Linked DNA regions of Homo sapiens: regions 1 and 3 are each linked to region 2. Evidence: promoter capture Hi-C in human tissues and cell types (Jung and others, 2019). All regions are on one chromosome and are shown on one strand. Each heading gives the region's core, a stretch centred on a gene start or on the middle of the fragment in contact. The rest is flanking DNA. Distances are from core to core; before and after follow the strand shown.

What was found. Contacts are between HindIII fragments. The study calls those that stand out against the background at their distance.
Region 1: a contact is called between a fragment that was not itself captured here and the fragment with the promoter of RNF125 in region 2, in 1 of the 25 tissues and cell types used here (mesendoderm cells).
Region 3: a contact is called between a fragment that was not itself captured here and the fragment with the promoter of RNF125 in region 2, in 1 of the 25 tissues and cell types used here (mesendoderm cells).

What each region holds. Positions count from the first base shown.
Region 1 is chr18:31,829,095-31,833,134 of GRCh38, reverse strand. TRAPPC8 (trafficking protein particle complex subunit 8) reads left to right here. Exons shown (of 29, transcript NM_014939.5): 28 at 962-1,051; 29 at 2,146-3,938. The coding sequence ends at 2,380. Among named protein-coding and RNA genes, the nearest start is that of SLC25A52, 70 kb to the right of the region's middle. The HindIII fragment of the contact is 4,013 bases long and covers 325-4,040 here.
Region 2 is chr18:32,016,978-32,020,760 of GRCh38, reverse strand. RNF125 (ring finger protein 125) reads right to left here and starts at 1,936. Exons shown (of 6, transcript NM_017831.4): 1 at 1,734-1,936. The coding sequence starts at 1,897. RefSeq lists enhancers at 1,175-1,224, 869-1,741, 2,041-2,335, 1,742-2,614 and a silencer at 2,041-2,335. The HindIII fragment of the contact is 18,790 bases long and covers 1-3,783 here.
Region 3 is chr18:31,879,196-31,882,992 of GRCh38, reverse strand. The region is part of intron 12 of TRAPPC8 (trafficking protein particle complex subunit 8); the gene reads left to right. Among named protein-coding and RNA genes, the nearest start is that of TRAPPC8, 62 kb to the left of the region's middle. The HindIII fragment of the contact is 6,100 bases long and covers 1-3,797 here.

The DNA.
Region 1 (4,040 bases), core at 1,082-3,581, 190 kb after region 2:
TTTGTTGCCCTTCTTGCCACATGAGAAGTTTGTGGGGGAAGTTAGGGCATAGCACCAGTACAACCTGGTATGTATTTTAAATCATCTTAGTTTTTGTTTAGGGAAACCTGTGACGTTTGCGGTATTGTTTAAAAAGTATTTCTCAGTAAGAAGATATAAAGTTTCTGAAAGTATAAAATATATTATCTGAGCAGAATTTAAAAGTTAATGTGTATGAACTTATACGGTTACTATTTTTTCTTCTTTACTATCTTTGTGTTTATAGAGTAAAAGGTAGATAATAGTATATAACCCTGCTTCATTTGTACATGTTATATTCATTTCTTGCATTCTTGATTTGAAATCTGTACCACTCTATTCGCATGTCCTCTTCTATCACTGCCTTTTTTCCTATGCTTTAGTAATTTATTAATTATGGTATCAGAAACTAGGCTACCTGAGCAAAATGTATCCACTCGAAAGAGATTTCCTCATAACTATATAGAAATCATTCTTATATTCTTCAAAACATGATGTTGTGCAAATTTGATAGAAAAACAAATGTCAGTCTAGGCCAAGTTCTCAAAATTAAGTAATTTTTAATAAGCACAAAGACAACAGTATTAGTTGTTGGCATTTTCATGGTTTACTTTTTCTTCATTGATCTAAGTTGAGATTTTGTTTTTCATTTTGTGAAATATCTAGAAACATTTTAGTTGTTTTTAGAAGATTAATAAATGAAAATAAAATAGTTCTGTGAATGTATATATTCTGATATTTAATATTGTCATTGTATTAATATATTTTTTATTTACAATATAATTTGTCTTGAGTGATTTTGGAACTTGAGCTTTTTCCTTCTTGAATCTGATTGTTTTTAAGGAGCTTATGCTCTGTTACATAGTCTTAAGTGTTATTTTCAGGAAAATTGCTTTTAAGAAGAAAAAAATATATAACTTTTTTGTTTATTTTTCTTCCATAGCCTTTGTTTAGTACCAGTCACTCTTTTACTTTCCAATTGTTCTAAGGCTGATGTAGATGTCATAGTTGATCTTCGGCATAAAACAACAAGGTAAAGATTTGTTTAGTGCAAGGTTATTTGATTTGGGAGCAATTTAATATTTTGAAATTATGCAAATAATTACCTAACATGGATAAGAAAGTTACTCAAGCTTGTCCTGGTTTTTTGTTTGGTAATATAGAAGGCTTACAGATGTGTTACAGAGGCTTTAAATATTAAAGATTTTTTTTTCTTGATTATAAAATAGTACTTAACAACAAAAAAAAATCCAGATCCACAGTCCCACATCAGATACTCCTAGAGCCAAATGCTTTTGGGAATTCAGAAATTTTTGAATTTTTGGAAAAATACTATAAAGCGTATACTTAATATTTTTGTATAACACCCCAAACAGGATCTGGGACAGTTCTCTGAAATCCAAACACACACCTATATATGTGATTTTGTGTATCATAAATTTATTAATACTTTATTGGGTACTGGGTTTTCCATTTTTCAATATTATAAACAGTTTCAATATTAAAAGCATTCATGTACAGACACTTATATATGGCTAACTAAGGAGTTAAAAGTTTAGGTTTGAAATCAAGTTCCAACATATACTAACTCTTAGGGCATTAAATGAAATAATCCACTTTTAGCATTGTGCCTAGAGAATAGAAACTATTAAATAATAAATGTTAGCTGTTATAGTAATGATGTTGCTATTATTAATAAACAGTTGGCTTCATAAAATAATTTTTAGAAATAGAATTGTTAGATGAAAGGGATGTTTGTTTTCTTCTTGAGATGGAGTCTTGCTCTCTCATGGGCTGGAGTGCAGTGGTGCAATCTCAGCTCACTGCAACCTCCGCCTCCCAGGTTCAAGTGACTCTCCTGCCTCAGCCTCCTGAGTAGCTGGGATTACAGGCGTGCACCACCATACCTGGCTAATTTTGTATTTTTAGTAGAGACGGGGCTTCATTATGTTGGTAGGCTGGTCTTGAACTCCTGATCTCAGGTGATCCACCTGCCTCAGCCTCCCAAAGTGCTGGGATTACAGGCGTGAGCCACCGCGCCCAGCTGAAAGGGATATGTTAATGTGACTTTGGGAAAAAAATTAAAAAGAAAAAAATCCTGCAACTTACATTTTCCTCCTCCCTTAGTCCAGAAGCACTGGAAATCCATGGATCATTCACATGGCTTGGACAAACACAGTATAAACTTCAACTTAAAAGCCAGGAGATTCACAGTCTGCAGCTGAAAGCATGCTTTGTTCATACAGGTGTTTATAACCTTGGAACTCCTAGGGTATTTGCCAAGTTATCGGACCAAGTTACAGTGTTTGAAACAAGTCAGCAGAATTCCATGCCTGCCCTGATCATCATCAGTAATGTGTGACAACTTGGAAATTTGTACTGAAATCCACAATAATCAGTTTTTGCTGGATGGGTTTTACAGCAGTATTTGATATACCTAACTTGTTATGGAGGTTGATTGATATCTGATCCCTGCAAAATACTTTGACTTGTCATTTTGTTGATGATGCAAAGCACGTTGGACTGAGAATACTTAACATTCTTTTTCTGTATTTCTTTAAACCCTGAGAATAATTTACATGCTCATAATACAGGATATCAGCATATTTGTGCACCTTATTAAGCCCCATCTTAAGAAAACACAAAGTCTAAGTCTGCTGTTACAACTTGTCAATGGTATACGAATATTAGGAGATGATTCTGAGAAAGGAAAGGCCTTGTTGGCAGTACTCCTGTTAAGCCATTAGTCTCTAAATTCCAGCTTTACTGTGAAGTTCTATAGAGTGTTAAATACAAATTTTCCTGTCTTGCTTCACACAGTTCCTTAAAATCAGTTTTGAACTTTGGTCATAGAGTCTTCATATTTCAGTATTTGGTGGTCCCTATGACTTATACATAACTTTGTAAAAAGAAAAAAAAATTTTTTCTGATGCTTTGAATATAGTTTTGAAAGGAGTTTTGACTTTTTTCCCCTCATTCATCTCAGTATAGAGTGCGCTATTTCACAATACGATTTTTGTCATTAAAATTACCATATTCTTTATTATATAACGTTAACTATTGAGTTGATCTGTTTAAAATATAAATCTCAAGTTAATTAAAAATAAGCTTTTCAAAAATGTATTATATTTATAACAAATATACTGTAAATAGAATAAAGACATGCTATTCACTGTATAGCGTATTAGTATCTGTTGATTAGAAAGTCTGGTTTCAAAATATTTTTTTATTCAGAGAATGGGCATTTGGACATAAGAAATTTCAATTCAGCCCTGCTGCAGATAGAGAAATGGGAGCAAGGTTGTTTCAATGAATATCTCTTGTCATTGGAGAAGGAGGGAAGACAGGGTGTAGGAGTGGGTGGCAGGGAGTACAAGAGCCAGGGTCAGTCAAGTCTGGAGCAGATGGGGTCCTTGTGCCATTGACAGCTACCATGGTTTGTTCCAGTCTCAATCTCGGCACTAATCGGAGCAGACTGCACCAAAGTGGGGAGAGATCAAAAGACCCCGTTTTCAGACTGAAGATTCCAAACCTGTACTTGGAACAACTCTTCTTGAGAGATGGGTGGCTAGTCTGTGTGCCTCTCTGCAACTGCTGCTTATGCTTCTGGATCTTAAGTGGGTCTCTGGCTTTTCAGCTCCTTCCACTCTGTGTCTTAGCAGGTGTGGGACAAGTTGGAGAGGAAGGTCACATTCTAAGGACACTCATTTCCTTCTTGAGAGTTTAGGGCCATGGGCTTATAAAAAGTCTGAGGAGGAAAGACAAGAATGAGGAGGCATAATCACAGTGGTATCTCATATTTAAACCACTCAGCTGAATATTAAATTGAACCGATTGTTAAACAGACACTAATAAAAAAATTAAACTATATAAACCTACAACTGAATATATTAAAAATAAAGGTAATAAAGCACTCAAAATTACTTCCTGAATATTACTCAGGATTATTTATGTCTATTTTATCTGTATCCTGGAAATACTACACAATGGTGTGTTTCTGCTCATCTCTTGCCAACCCTACA
Region 2 (3,783 bases), core at 687-3,186:
ATTTTTGTATTTTTAGTAGAGACGAGGTTTCACCATGTCGGCCAGGCTGGTCTCGAACTCCTGACCTCAGGTGATCCATCCACCTCGGCTTCCCAAAGTGCTAGGATTACAGGTGTGAGCCACCACGCCGGGCGTCAAAACTTTTGACTGCAAGTGCACAACATGTTTTTAAGGACTACCTAAATCCTTTCAAAAGTGGTCCTCAAAAACATGTTGTGCACTTGCATTCATAATAACGGTATTTCTTTCTTCCTGCTAAGCCAAATGCTGGTACAAGCCACTGTGGTATCACACATGGCTTCATCATACTATAGTCACCCTTCAAAGGACATTAAGTAGGCTTCCGCTCCTGATCTGTGCAGACACAACACACACACACGTATCCACGAAAAAAAATCAAAGCAAAGAGAGAAGGCTGGGTGCAGTGGCTCACACCTTTAATCCCAGCACTTTGGGAGGCCGAGGTGGGTGGATCAATTGAGGTCAGGAGTTCAAGACCAGCCTGGCCAACATGGTGAAACCCCATCTCTACTCAAAATTCAAAAACTAGCCGGGTGTGGGGGTGGGCGCCTGTAATCCCAGCAACTCGGGAGGCTGAGGCAGGAGACTCACTTGAGCCTGGGAGGCGGAGGTTGCAGTGGGCGGAGGTTGCAGTGAGCCGAGATAGCACCACCGCACTCCAGCCTGGGCGACAGAGCCAGACTACGTCTCTCTCTCTCTCTCTCAAACACACACACACACACACACACACACACACAGTAAACAGAGAGCACAAATTCACAGCTCCAACTCCACCAGTTATTCAAACACACATTAAGGATGTGCCAATTTTATATAGGGACTTTGTTTTTAAATTCTTCTTAGAAACGACCACGGCTTTGCACCAACTGTGAGTTTTAGCTAAGTACTATGCGGTTTTGAGAAAGTTATTTTACTCTGTAATTTCCGCCGGTTTGGAGAGACCGTGCGTAAAGCAGGTAGCCTGCCACCTCCTGTTACGTTGTGGCTGGGTTTTGAAGGAGTACATTCAGGGGCTTGGCGGCTAACGTCCAAGCCCCACCCTAGCAGGTTGTTAAACTCTAACAACTGTGGAAAGTCACTCGGAAGCTCCAGTTTGACTTGCCCTTTGAGGGGCTGGGTGTCTGTGTTGGGAAAGGGTAGCAGGGGTGGGGGTGGAAAGACACTTTGCACAGATCCTTGTTTGCTTAAGACGAGCCTCTGTGGGCATTCTGGGAACACGTGCACAGCTCCAGCAAAACAAAACGGACCCGGGTTTCTGGGGCAGAGGGAAGCGCAGCCCGTTCTACCGTGTTCAGCGGGGTAACTGCGCTTTGCGGGAGCCCCTGCCTTGTAGCTGGAGCTCGTTTCCTTTCCGTGCCTGGGCGAGCGCTGGTTCTCCAGCCAAGAGCACCCTCCCCAGTTGGCGAGCCCTGGCTCTGGGCGGGACCCGTGCCTGGATCCCCTTCTCTGGAGTTCCGCACCTGGGCTTCGGGAGCTGAAAGCGCAAGGGGGCTACAGGACCCGCTTGTTTATTTTTTCTCCTCCCGAAATCCTGTGTCACCTTCCGACCCGCGTTTTCCCCGTGGTCCTGCATCCGACGGGTCCAGGTTTCTCCCTGCAGCAATTTCCTAAGAGGCTGTCTTCCGTCCCCCTCCTTCCCCACACCATGCCCTCAGCTTCCCCACATCGCCCTCCTTAGGGGTGGGCGCAAACCGAGCTCCCCTGGAACTTACACGTGGCCACAGCGGGTCCGGACAGGCTGGTGTAACACCTCAAGGCACACGGCGCAGTCGAAGGACGTGACGGGCAACTCCGGGTCCCTCCTGCGCTCCAGGGCCCGCGCGGTGGCAGAGGCGGGCGCCGATTTGCCGCTGTCGGTGCTCAGCACGGAGCCCATCGCTGTGCCTCTCGCCCAGACAGCTGCGAAGCACTCAGTGCCTGCCGCAGGGTTGTTTTGTTGCCGTGCGGTGGAGGAAGGAAGTCCCGGCCCAGCTGCGATCGCCGCCTCCCAGCTCTCCCAGCTCGCGCAGCCCAGAAGCCACCTCCGCCGCTGCGCCCAACCCTGGTCTAGGGCAGGGCGAGCGCGCGGCCGCGGGGCTGAGATCTTCGGCAAGCCGCCTAGGTTAAGGCGCGGAGGCGGAGGCGGCAGCCGCCCCGTGCTCTGTCTTGTGGTATTGGGAGGATTGAAACCTGAAACCTCAACTGCAGAGAAGAGGACTTGAGGCAGCAGTAAACCTTCCAAGCTATCACACACAGCTGCTTTCCCCACTGTCAGAAGTTAAGTGCGGGCGTGGCCATGCTTAATGATAATCAGAGAACAGCCGCTTTTAAGGTGAAGTGGAAGACCATCCTCCACTGTTGTCATCACAATAAGCTGCAAAAATGACCTATGACCTATGATTGGGCGTCTCCTAAGACGGTGCTATCGCTACTCTGTCATCCAATCAATAGTCCATTAATGGAGAGATAGCCTGGGTAGTGGAAAGAGTCCTGGAGATTAGGATTCCAATCTTACCTCTCCTACAGAGATTCTAGTGCTAAACCCTGCCATCTCCAGTTTCCTCTGCGGCTCAGGATTTCCTCTGTTGTTTGTACGCTCCCCACCCCGCCCTTTAAACATGATCAGCCAGGCGCGGTGGCCCACGCCTGTAATTCCAACACTTTGGGAGGCCGAGGCGGGCTTGAAACTCCTGCTTGAGGGCAGGAGTTCGAGACCAGCCTGGCCAACATGGTGAAACCCCGTCGCTGCTAATAATACAAAAATTAGCCGGGCGTTAATTTACACTTTTTACGAAGACTTATTTAGTGCCCACTGCACGCCAGACTCGGTTCTAGTGATGAAGACACAATCGTCAACAAGCAAACAAAATCCCAGTTCTCACAGAACTTACTTTAAAAAACAAAAACAAAACTTTGAGATAATTATAGATTCACATACAGTTGTAAGAATAGTACATAGTATATAATACACATATACAATAATATATAATATAACACATGGGATATAATAACGCATATAATACATGTACGTATTTAGCAGGCCATAAACTTCACCCAGGCTTTACTTTTAATTAGGAGATATAGGCCGGGTACCGTGGCTCACGCCTGTAATTTCAGCACTTTGGGAGGCTGAGGTGGGAGGATCACTTGAGCACGGGAGCCAAGATCACACTACTGCACTCCGTCCTGTGCGACAGAGTGAGACCATGTCTCAAAAAACAAACCAAGCCGGGGCAGTGGCTCACGCCTGTAATCCCAGCACTTTGGGAGGCAAGAAGGACAGATCACCTGAGGTCAGGAGTTTGAGACCAGCCTGGCCAACATGGTGAAACCCTGTCTCTACTAAAAATACAAAACTTAGCTGGGTGTGAGCTACTTGGGAGGCTGAGGCACAAGAATCGCTTGAACCGGAAAGGTGGAGGCTGCAGTGAGCCGAGATCATGCCACTGCACTCCAGCCTGGGCAACAGAGGGAGACCCTGTCTCAAAAAACCAAAACAGGCTGGGTGCAGTGGCTCACGCCTGAAATCCCAGCAATTTGGGAGGCCGAGGCAGGTGGATCACAAGGTCAGGAGTTCAAGACCAGCCTGGCCAACATAGTGAAACCCCGTCTCTACTAGAAATACATTTCTTTAGTAAAAATTTTTGTACTAAAAATACAAAAATTAGCCAGGTGTGGTGGCACATGCGTGTAGTCCCAGCTACTTGGGAGGCTGAGGCAGGAGAACCACTTGCACCCAAGAGGTGGAGGTTGCAGTGAGCCGAGACCATGCCACTACACTCC
Region 3 (3,797 bases), core at 391-2,890, 140 kb after region 2:
TCAGCCTCCCAAAGTACTGGGATTACAGGTGTGAGCCACTGCGCCTGGCTGTACCTCTTTTAAAACAGTAATTACAGAGGCCAGGCATGGTGGCTCATGCGTGTAATCCCAGTACTTTGGGTGGCTGAGGTGGGTGGACCACGAGTTCAGGAGTTCGAGACCAGCCTGGCCAACATAGTGGAATCCCATCTCTATTAAAAATACAAAAATTAGCCAGGCGTGATAGCATGCGTCTGTAATCCCAGCTACTTGGGAGGCTGAGGCAGGAGAATCGCTTGAACCCAGGAGGCAGAGGTTGCAGTAGGCCGAGATCGTGCCACTTCACTCCAACCTGAGCGACAGAGCGAGACTCTGTCTCGAAAAAAATAAAAATAAAAATAATTACAAATTCAGGAGGTCCATGTCTGTGTTTGCTGCATGAGTATATTGTGTAATGCTGTGATTTGGGCTTCAGAGAACTAACCCATCACCCAAATAGTGAATATATTATCCAGTAGGTTGTTTTTCAACCCTCACTTCCTTCCCTTCCTCTTTCTCCCCTTTTGGTGTGCCCAGTGTCTATTATTTCCTCTTTATGTCCGTGCATGCCCATTGTTTAGCTCCCACTTATAAGTGAGAGCATGCCTATTTGATTCTCCATTTCTGATTTATTTCACTTATGATAATGGCCTCTACCTCCATCCATGTTGCTGCAAAGGATATGATACCATTCTTTTTTATGGCCGTGTCATATTCCATGGTGTGTATGTACCACATTTTCTTTATACAGTCCACCATTGATGAGCACCATAGGTTGATTCCATGTTTTTACTACTGTGAATAGTGCTGTGATGAACATAAGAATACAGGTGTCTTTTTGGTAGAACAATTTACTTTTCTTTGGGTACATACCTAGTAATGGGATTACTGGGTTGAATGGTAGTTCTCTTTTATCTGTTGGAGAAACCTCCAAATTCCTTTCCACACTGGCTGAACTAACTTACATTCCCACCAACAGTGTATAACTGTTCTGTTTTCTCCATAGCCTTTTAAAATAGCCATTCTAAACTGGTATGAGATGGTATCTCATTGTTTCGATTTACATTTCTCTAATGATTAGTGATGTTCAGTATTTTTTCATATTTTTCATGGCTGCCTGTGTATCTTTTGAGAAGTACCTTACGTCCTTTGCCCATTTTTTAATGGGATTATTTGATTTTTTTTCTTGATTTAAGTTACTTTTAGATTCTGGATATTAGTCCTTTGTCGGATGTGTAGTTTGCAAGTATTTTCTCAGATTTTGGACGTTATTTATTCTGCTAATAGTTTCTTTTGCTGTGCAGAAGCTTTTTGGTTTAATTAGGTACCAGTTGTCAATTTTTGTTTTTGTTGGCATTGCTTTTGAGGACTTGCTCATAAATTTTTTGCCAAGGGTGATGTCCAGAAGGGTATTTCCTGGGTTTTCTTCTAGGATTTTTTTATACTTTGAGGTCTTATCTTTAAGTCTTTAATCCATCTCCAGTTAATTTTTTGCATATGGTGATAGGTAGGGGTCTAGTTTCATTCTTCTGTATATGGTTAGCCCAGTTATCCCAGCACCATTTATTGAATAGGGAGTCCTTTTCCCCATTGCTTAGTTTTGTAGACTTTGTTAAAGATCTGTTGGTTGCAGGTATGCTGCTTTATTTCTGAGTTCTGTATTCTATTCCATTGTTCATGTGTCTATTTTTTGTACCAGTACCATGCTGTTTTGGTTACTATAGCCTTGTAGTGTAGTTTGAAGTTGGGGAATGTGATGCCTCGGGCTTTGTTTTTGCTTAGGACTTTGTTGGCTACTCAGGCTCTTTTTTGGTTCCATATGAATTTTAGAATAGTTTTTTCTAATTCTGTGGAAAATGACATTATTTATTTGATAGATAGTTTGTTGAATCTGTAGATTGCTTTGGGCAATATAGTTATTTTAACTATATTGATTTTTCCTTATCTGTGAGCGTGGGTTTTTTTTGTTCTTTTGTTTGTGTCTGTACTTTCTTTTATCAGTGTTTTGTAGTTCTCTTTTACCTCCTTGGTTAAATGTATTCCAGGTATTTTATTTTGTGTGTGTGTGGCAGTTGTAAATGGGATTGAGTTCTTACTTGGTTCTCATCCTGAGTTTTATGACTGTATAGAAACACAACTGATTTTTGTGCATTAAATTTGTATCATGAAACTGCTGAAGTCATTTATCCTAATGACTACTGTCTTTAGGAGGAATCTTTAGGTTTTCTAGGTATAGGATCTTGTCATCATTGAACAAAGATCATTTCACTTCCTCTTTTCCTATTTGGATGCTTTTTCTTCTTTCTCTTGCGTGATTGCTGTGGCTAGGACTTCTAGTACTATGTTGAATAGAAGTGGTGTGAGTGCAGAGTGTACATCCTTGTCTTGTTCCCCTTCTTAGGGGGAATGCTTTCAACTTTTCCCCATTCAATATGATTTTGGCTGTGAGTTTGTCATATATGGGTCTTATTATTTTTAGGTATGTTTCTTACAGTGCTTAGTTTGTTAAGAGCTTTTATCATGAAGGGATTTTGGACTTTATTGAATGCTTTTTCTGTATCTATTGAGATGATCATATGGTTTTTAATTCTCTTTATGTGGTGAGTAACATTTATTGGTTTGCAAATATTGAACCATCCTTGTATTTCTGGAATAAAACCCACTGGATTGTGATTAATTTGACTTTTTGATGTCCAGCTGGATTTGGTTTGCTAGTATTTTATTGATGGTTTTTGCATCTGTGTTCATCATGGGTATTGACTTGTTTTCTTTTTGTGTGTATGTCCTTGCCAGATTTTGATATCAGGATGATATTAGTTAAGGAGGAATCTTTCTTCCTTAAAAAAAAAAAAATATATATATATATATATATATATATATATATTTTTTTTTTCAATAGTTTCAGTAAAATTGGTACCAGCTCTTCTTTGTGCATATGGTAGAATTTGGCTTTGAATCCAGCTATCTTGGGCTTCATTTGGTTGTTTATTTATTTTTTTTTTTAATTACTGATGGAATTTTGTAACTACTTAATGACCTATTCAAGATTTGAGTTTCTTCCTTGTTCAGTCTTGGGAGATTGTATGATTCTGGGAATTAACCCATTTCCTCTAGGTTTTCTAGTTTGTGTGCATAGAGGTTCATAGTATTCTCTGAGGACCTTTTGTATTTCTGTGGTATCAGTTGTGATGTCACCTTTGTCATATCTGATTGTGCTTATTAAAATCATCTCTTCTTTTTCTTGCTTAATCTTGCCTAGTAGTCTCATCAATTTTGTTTGTGTTTTCAAATAACTTTATTTTGTTGATTCTTTGTATGATTTCTTTGGTCTCAATTTCATTTAAAGAATAAAGATCTGCTCTGATCTTTATTTCTTTTCTTTTGCCAGCTTGGGCTTGGTTTGTTCTTGTTTCTGTTTCCTCTAGATGTGACATTATTAATTTGAGATCTGTCTTTTTGATATAAGCATTTAGTGCTGTAAACTTTCCTCTTAACACTGCTTTTGCTGTATCCAAGAGGTATTGATATGTTGTGTTTCTGTGTTCATTTGTTTCAAAATTTTTTTAAATTTCTGCCTTAATTTCATTGTTTACCCTAAAGTCATTCAATACCAAGTTGCTTAGTTTCCATGTACTCGTATGGTTTTGAGCGTTCCTCCTGGTATTGATTTCTAATTTTATTCCACTGTGGTCTGAGAAGATCCTTGATATGATTTTGACTTTTTAAAATTTTTTGAGACTTGCTTTGTGACCCAGTATATGGTCAACTTCAGAGAATGT